2 separate regions of the Homo sapiens genome follow, and region 1 is linked to region 2. The links are contacts of gene promoters, found by promoter capture Hi-C in human tissues and cell types (Jung and others, 2019). All regions are on one chromosome and are shown on one strand. The core of a region is centred on a gene start or on the middle of the fragment in contact, and the rest is flanking DNA. Distances in the headings are between cores, read along the strand shown. Region 1 has its middle 14 kb from the start of PTPN7. Region 2 holds the start of RABIF (RAB interacting factor).

Region 1 (3,473 bases), core at 444-2,943, 710 kb after region 2:
AGCACTTTGGGAGGCTGAGGTGGGTGGATCACTTGAGGTCAGGAGTTCGAGACCAGCCTGGCCAACATGGCGAAACCCCAACTCTACTAAAAATACAAAAATTAGCCGCACGTGGTGGCAGGTGCCTGTAATTCTAGTTACTCCAGAGGCTGAGGCAGGAAAATGACTTGAACCTGGGAGGCAGAGGTTGCAGTGAGTTAAGATCATGCCACTGCACTCCAGCCTGGGAGACAGAGGGAGACTCTGTCTCAAAAAAAAAAAAAAAAAAAAAAAGGCCCTTATGTGGATGGACAGGCAGGTATCTGGGGGCCCAGGCAGCACCCCTCCACCCTCAGAGCTTGAACTCACTTGAACTCAGGAGCCACATGAGCCTGGCCCAAAAGTCAACACTTCTTTATAAATGGGGACACTGAGGCTCAAAGAGGGCCAAGGTTTGCTCTAGGGGCTGAGCCCCAGCTAGAACCCAGGTCTCCTGACTTCCAGGGTGACCTCCTTCCAGCTCCCTCCCAGCCTGTACTCCAGGCAAGATCCAGACAACAGTGACAGGGGCAGGAGGAGGCTGGGAGGGGAGGCCCAGGGTAGGGGTAGAAGGAGCCACCACATTGGAGAGGGATGCGCTCAGGGTGGGGAGGCCCATCTATCCCTCAGCTCCACCAAGGGCTCCGCAGGCAGAAAGAGCAGGAAGACTCAGGCCTCATGAGAGGGGCTTCCCAAACCAACTCTACAGGCCCCCAGGGCTTCCGGGTAGGAGAAAACCTCACTGTGTGTCCTGCACTTGAGTAAAGGCAAGGAGCATGGAGCTGGTCACACTGCCTGCTTCAATCCCAACTCCCCACTGTGCTGAGGAACCTGGCGCAAGTTATTTTCTGTCTCTCTGCCTCAGTCTCCTCATCTGTGAAACAGAGAAAACCATAGTAACTACGTCCTAGGCTTGGTGTTATGAGACTTAATGAGAGCACACAGGTAGAAGACCTGGCTGAGTGCCCAGTAAACGCTAGCTATTGCTGTTATGATTTTTTTTTCTTTGAGAGGGGGTCTCACTCTGTCACCCAGGCTGGAGTGCAATGGTGCAATCTCAGCTCTGCAACCTCTACCTCAAGCTAATTTTTGTATTTTTAGTAGAGATGGGGTTTCACCATGTTGGCCAGGCTAGTCTCAAACTCCTGATCTCAAGTGATCCACCCGCCTCTGCCTTCCAAAGTGCTGGGATTACAGGCGTGAGCCACTGCGCCCAGCCTTGCTATTGTTATGATTAACCACTTGTGGCCCACTACCACCCACCTCCCTACTGCCAGCCATGAGAGAGCATGAGGAATATCATGCCCAGTGCCGCCGTACAAGTGAGCAAACGCCTTCTAAGAAGGATCTGCCCACCTTCTAGAAGGCCTAAAGGGCCAGGGCCCTGGGGGAGTCCCAGTGAGGGGAGTGGGGTTACCTAGTGCCTAGGGACCGAGGGAACAACCCTAAGCTGATACATGCCCCACCATCAGCCCAGCTGCCTGCCTGAAGACCACAGAGGCCAAGGGGACATGCAGCCCCCTGGGAATCCAAGGAGCAAGGTAGGGGAGGGCCATCAGAAGGCACTCATGTGTCCAGCCTGTGGCGTTGGTGCTGCTGCTCTGATCCAGCCCCCGCAGGGTGGTCAGCTGCACCAGGAACTCAGTGCCCGGTGACAGCTAGGCCCAGGAGAAGTTCTGGACCTCTGCGGCCAGAGTGTCCGCCCTTTCCAGAGTCAGAGGCCTCAGGCTATAAAGCTGCACCTGGAAGCCATCCCTCCCCCACTGGTGGGGGACTCCAGGAAGCCTTCAGGGCAGGAGGCTGGGTGGCAAGGTTCAGGCTCAAGTTGGCAGGAGGAGCAGGGACTGGGGGAAGGACAAGGAAGAAACAGATGTGGAGTCACCTGAATTCCCTGCCTCTCCTCCCCATGAGCTACACCCATCTCCTCAGTCTCCAGGCAAGCTCCCAGCCCTCCCCACCTAAAACCCCCACTTCCACAGGGCTCAAAGGCCACCCTCCTTTCCTTCCCAGGAAACCCTCTTAAACAGATGCTTGCCCAGACACCTGCTGCCCCGCTTCCTCCCTGACTGTCCGCCCCTTGAGGGCATGGCGCCAACCCTGTCACACCTCTTAGGGCCCCGGTCTCCAGCTCACCTGCTGACGTTCAGTTCCCGTCCAGTCTGTCTCTGGCCTGAGGACCTTGGTGCACACTTAGCCTCCTGCTAAGGTCCTCTCCACCCATCCTCCCCAGCCCCAGCAGATGACCCTGGGCAGGACCCCACCCTGCCCCCCACCAGCCTGCTCTCACTCAGCTCACTCTTCTCCGGGAAACCTCCTCTGACTTTTTAAGCAGGTGTCCCTTCTGTGAGTCCTAGAAGATTAGACTGAACCACATAAAATTCCTGAGATTCAGCCATTTTAACCAATAGGAATGGAGTTTCATATGGTTCAAGCTAATACATTATGCACATTCCAATTAGTGCATTAACAGGTATTATGATATATAAAATCATATATACACACACACACACACACACACACACACATATGCCATCTGTTTACTTGTCTTCCTGAGGCACTGAGGACTATTCATCATTTTTGGCCTCAGCAACTGGTTTCATGCCAAGAAAATGGGAGTCATTCATTAAATAATTGTGGGATGGATGGATGGATGGTGGATGGATAGATGGATGGATGGACAGTGGATAGATGGTGGGTATATAGCTAACCAGATGGAAGGAGGTAGAAATTGCTTGCAAATAGATTCATGAAAGGCCTCATCTTGTACTCATGGCCTTCTGAGTCAAGAATATGGCACACAAGGCCGGGCACGATGGCTCACGCCTGTAATCCCAGCACTTTGGGAGGCTGAAGTGGGCAGATCATGAGGTCAGGAATTCGAGACCAGCTTGGCCAACATGGTGAAACCCCATCTCTACTAAAAATACAAAAATTAGCCATGTGTGGTAGCAGGCACCTGTAACCCCAGCTACTCGGGAGGCTGAGGCAGGAGAATTGCTTGAACCTTGGAGGCGGAGGTTGCAATGAGCTGAGATCATGCCACTGCACTCCAGCCTGGGTGATAGAGCAACTCCGTCTTGGAAAAAAAAAAAAAAAAAAAAAAAAAAATATATATATATATATATATATATGGCACACAGTCCAGCCACAGTGGCTCATGCCTGTAATCCCAGCACTTTGGGAGGCCGAGGTGAACAGACTGTTTGAGGTCAGAAGTTCAAGATCAGCCTAGCCAACATGGTGAAACCCCATCTCTACTAAAAAAATAAAATAAAAATACAAAAATTAGCCAGGCAAGGTGGCAGGCGCCTGTAATTCCAGCTACTCGGGAGGCTGAGGCAAGAGAATCACTTGAACCCAGGGGTTAAAGGTTGCAGTGTGCCAAGATCCCACCACTGCACTCCAGCCTGGGTGACACAGCGAGATTCCATCTCAAAATATATATATATGTTTAT
Region 2 (3,900 bases), core at 1,348-3,847:
AGATGACATCAATGTGGGAGTTCAGTATAACTGGGGATAAACTAGAAGAACCTGTGATTTTACAGTCATCTTATTACCTGCCAGGGCTCATCTAGCCATGGCAATGTTTGCCTTGAATGGGGGTGAAAGCCTTTCTTTGTTGGATCAAATACTACTACACTATTACACTTCCACACTATTTATTTGGGGATGGGCTGGGAGTGACAGTAGCCTAGTAGTTCAGCTACCTGATTACTGCCCCATTCTTTTAGAAGCACATGTCTGCCAAGGAGTGGTTTGTACTGCTGTGTTTGGTACATCTAGTCTTTTTTCTGCTATAAGTTTTCCTTACCTGTCCTTTAGTGTAGATTTTATTCATCACAGGACAGAATAATCAAGGACAACCAAAATCCTTTTGTTAGTTTCAGTACCTCAGCTATCAACATTTCTGAGCTACCATTCAATGTTCCTCTGTGTCATGGAGTGAAATTCTTGTTTTGTGGGTATTAGGAGTGTGGGAATGTGATAACCTAAACAACCTTTGCTCTGAAATTCCATTTTTCCCTCTTTCCCTGAGTTGTATTGACCTACAGAGTTAATTTCCTTTGTATTTTTTTAAGAAAATATTAAAAATCAACGGTCTCAAATGCCGAGAGTTTGTGGCTAACCAACATTGCCTTTAGTAGATATTTGGGAGGGAAAGATGTAGGGATCAGCCGTAGCTCCTGTCTCTTCAAGCTGTTCATCTTGTGTGTTTGCCAACTAGTTCCGCTATTTCTATGTTAGACACAGGTAAGAGGTAGCCACTTTACACTTTGGAGATTCTCATCAGTAAAATATTTACCTGATTTGCCATATTCATTAGCCCCTCTGACGCTTGGAGTTACTTGAAAAAGGAATACAGAAAAGATCTTGAATTCACTTAGCACGCGCTTGAATTTCAGGGTTTCAGTCACACCAGTCCTTTTTTCCATTTGCTTTGAATTGTGGCATGTGATATAAACAGCTATGCGGAAGGCCTGCAAAACTGAAACAGTCCTGATGCTTCCAGAGCAAAAGGAAGGAGGAGCCACATGAGGAAGTTATTTTCCTTAAAAGATGCCTACCAACTTTGGCAGATGGATTGTGCATGCTAATTAAACCAAAGCCTATAAAACGTGACTTTTCCTATCTCAGGAAGAGATCCAGGGGAGGGTGAAGGACTGATGGCTCCTATGCTGTCTTCAGTGCTGACTAATGAGTTTCAGACCAACTTCACAAATAGTTCATACACTGAAGCCACAATGGTATGTTCTACAGAAAAATCAACACGTAAAACAGCTCCTTTTTCACTCTTCACAATCGTACACACTTTCATGTGCTCACATACATACACAGAGATACCCCTAATTTGGTGGTTCATCTTATTTTTTTAAGCTCCCATAACTGGCAACCAGCTACTTAGTTATCTAACCTGGGAAAACCAGCAGTTGCTTTGTGTCACCCCCATCACAATACAGACATCCAGCTAGTTTCTAAGTTCTGTACAATTTTAATTGTTTCAAGTCCATTCCCATATCTTTGTTCCCTCTGCTAGCTTCAGGGCCTTTCTGAGCTAGACTGATGAGGTAATAGCTACCTGATACCTTACCTCTACTCTTTTTCCTCTCTTCAATCTAGCCCCTCTATTTATTCATAGGTTATCTTTCTGAAGCACAGATAGGATCATTACAGTGCTTAACATACAGCAGACAGTAAATATCGAACAGTTATTTCTGGCCTAAAATTCCACAGATTCCCATTGTTCATGTTATTAATGTTAAATTCCTTAGCATGACATTAAAGCCATGGAGCTCTGGGCCCACTCTGCCTTACCTACCTCTACTACCACTTCTCCCCACGTGTAATGTGGGTCAGCCACAGTGGTCTACTAACCATTCCTAAATTTGTTCTCACCCTTGTTCATATATAATACTGTTCTGTCTGAAATAATCTTGCTTTCCTGACAATCCTAGTTAATTAAGAGCAGTGGCTTTAGAGTTGTGCTGCAACCTTTCTGATCTTTACCTTTCTCATTTTGTGCACAAGCGTGCCGACCCCGTAAGGAAACTGATGATTTAGTAAGTTTCTAAAGGCGCTTTGACACATTTTGCCGCATAGTAAATGGTCACAATGAGTAGAAGAGACCAGCAATTAAAGTTTCCACGCATCTTTTTCCAATACCGAAAAGATACATGCCCCTCTAAGTAGTTTCCTATAGAAGAAGCTAATGTGGCTAAAACTTGATGGGAAGTCCGACCCAGATTCCCTTCATATTGCCCCCAATAATGTCCCCATTTATTCAGGAGACTAAATTCAGATCCCAGAAAACTAAACAGTAAGGTCAACCTAATGATTTGTCTAGGTTTTAAGTGAAGCCCAGTGGCCAGGTGGGTATGGAGATGTGTCACTGGTGCCAAGAAGTGTCCCTGTCACAAAGCCTGCCGACACCTAGCCACTTAGGTTAGGCAATGAATGAAGGCGCTTGCGCAGTAGAGTCCAGAGCGGGGAAGCGGGCGCCTGCGCAGAGACATAGTGACCGTCCGCTCGCCGCCCCGCCTCTGCCAAGCCGCGCCAGCGCAGTGAATAACGAGCCAGCAGAGACAGCGTCTGCGCAGCCGTGGCTGAGGAGCCTGTGGCGGCAGCGGCGATGGAACCAGCGGAGCAGCCGAGCGAGTTAGTGTCAGCCGAGGGCCGAAACCGGAAGGCGGTGCTGTGCCAGCGTTGCGGCTCCCGGGTGCTGCAGCCAGGGACCGCTCTCTTCTCTCGCCGACAGGTAGGGAGGCAGGTTGGAGGCCGTTTACACCCACAGTCTCCCCCGACGAGCCGCCGCAGTCAGAATCTGAACCCCGGCTCTTCAATTTCCGGCAACCGCGCCCTCCTCGCGCGGCCTTAAGCCCCGCCCCTCGGGCCTCAGCTCGGCGAGGCTCCGCCCCTGGGGCCGCTGAAGGCTAGGGAGGGAACCGGGTCCCGCCCCGGCATCTTTTGCCGCGGGAACCCTTCCCTGGGCCACCCGGCCCAGCCAGCCCGGCCCTCTGCCCCCGGGGGGGCTTCGAGCGCGGGCCGTGCGCCCCGCCGCCGTCCAAGGCCGGTGCTCCGCGGGCGCGTGGAAGGGAGGCGCCCCATTCCGGCTCTCGGAGCTCCCGCCAGCTTGCAGGACCCGGCAGGTGCCTCTCGGCCGCCGCTCACCGCGGGTGTTGCTGGGTTCCTTTCCCACTTTAGACCTCACCCGCCAGTCCTGAATTCACCGTCTCATTTATGACGGGCACCTATCTGCTCCACAGAGGATCCCCAGGAACAACTGGTGTTGGGGACGCGGCAAAATAACCCTGGTAACCTACCCACTTTACCGAGGCACTGGAAGCCTGTGGTTTTCCAGATGAATCATATTTCAAGTGCAGTAGATCCCTGACGTCCTGGAAGTAAATTTCGAAGAAAAACTTTTTTTTTCCCTTCAGTTTAGGGATTTTAATACCCTTCCTACCACCATCATCGCAAGTGAGAAAGTTGAAAAAAAAATTTATTTCGGTAAACTGTGTTGAAGTGCAAATATAATGTCATTTCAACCATAGACACATCCTATCATTCAAAATTATTTCTAAAAATATGCAGATCATTTTATTATTTCACGTGCTTGAACAGATGGTGAAGTGTAATGTCTAGTAGAAGAGCAAGAGGTACCCATTCGTCCAAAACAGCCTTTCATCAAAGGAGGAAAAAAGGGAATCTGTGTCTGTTGTTTTGTAGGTATTTTGATGACTTTTGATCTAGAGATTGGTGGAGGTCCCGGGGTTCTTTTAAGACTTCAAGGTTTAGGAGTAGAGTTCTCAATTAATTTTACGAAGTTAGTGGCATTATGGAGTCAGTGGAAAGAACATGGATCTTGGAATTGAAACATACATG

The links. The method cuts DNA at HindIII sites, captures the fragments that hold promoters and counts their contacts. A contact is called where the count stands out against the background at its distance.
Region 1: a fragment that was not itself captured here is called in contact with the fragment with the promoter of RABIF in region 2 in 1 of the 25 tissues and cell types used here (spleen).

The regions. Positions count from the first base shown.
Region 1 is chr1:202,172,861-202,176,333 of GRCh38, reverse strand. It overlaps the pseudogene PTPRVP. Among named protein-coding and RNA genes, the nearest start is that of PTPN7, 14 kb to the right of the region's middle. The HindIII fragment of the contact is 7,981 bases long and covers 1-3,473 here.
Region 2 is chr1:202,887,846-202,891,745 of GRCh38, reverse strand. RABIF (RAB interacting factor) reads left to right here and starts at 2,597. Exons shown (of 2, transcript NM_002871.5): 1 at 2,597-2,773. The coding sequence starts at 2,648. It overlaps KLHL12 (kelch like family member 12), which reads left to right. Exons shown (of 12, transcript NM_021633.4): 12 at 1-626. RefSeq lists an enhancer at 2,562-2,831 and a silencer at 2,902-3,191. The HindIII fragment of the contact is 13,847 bases long and covers 1-3,900 here.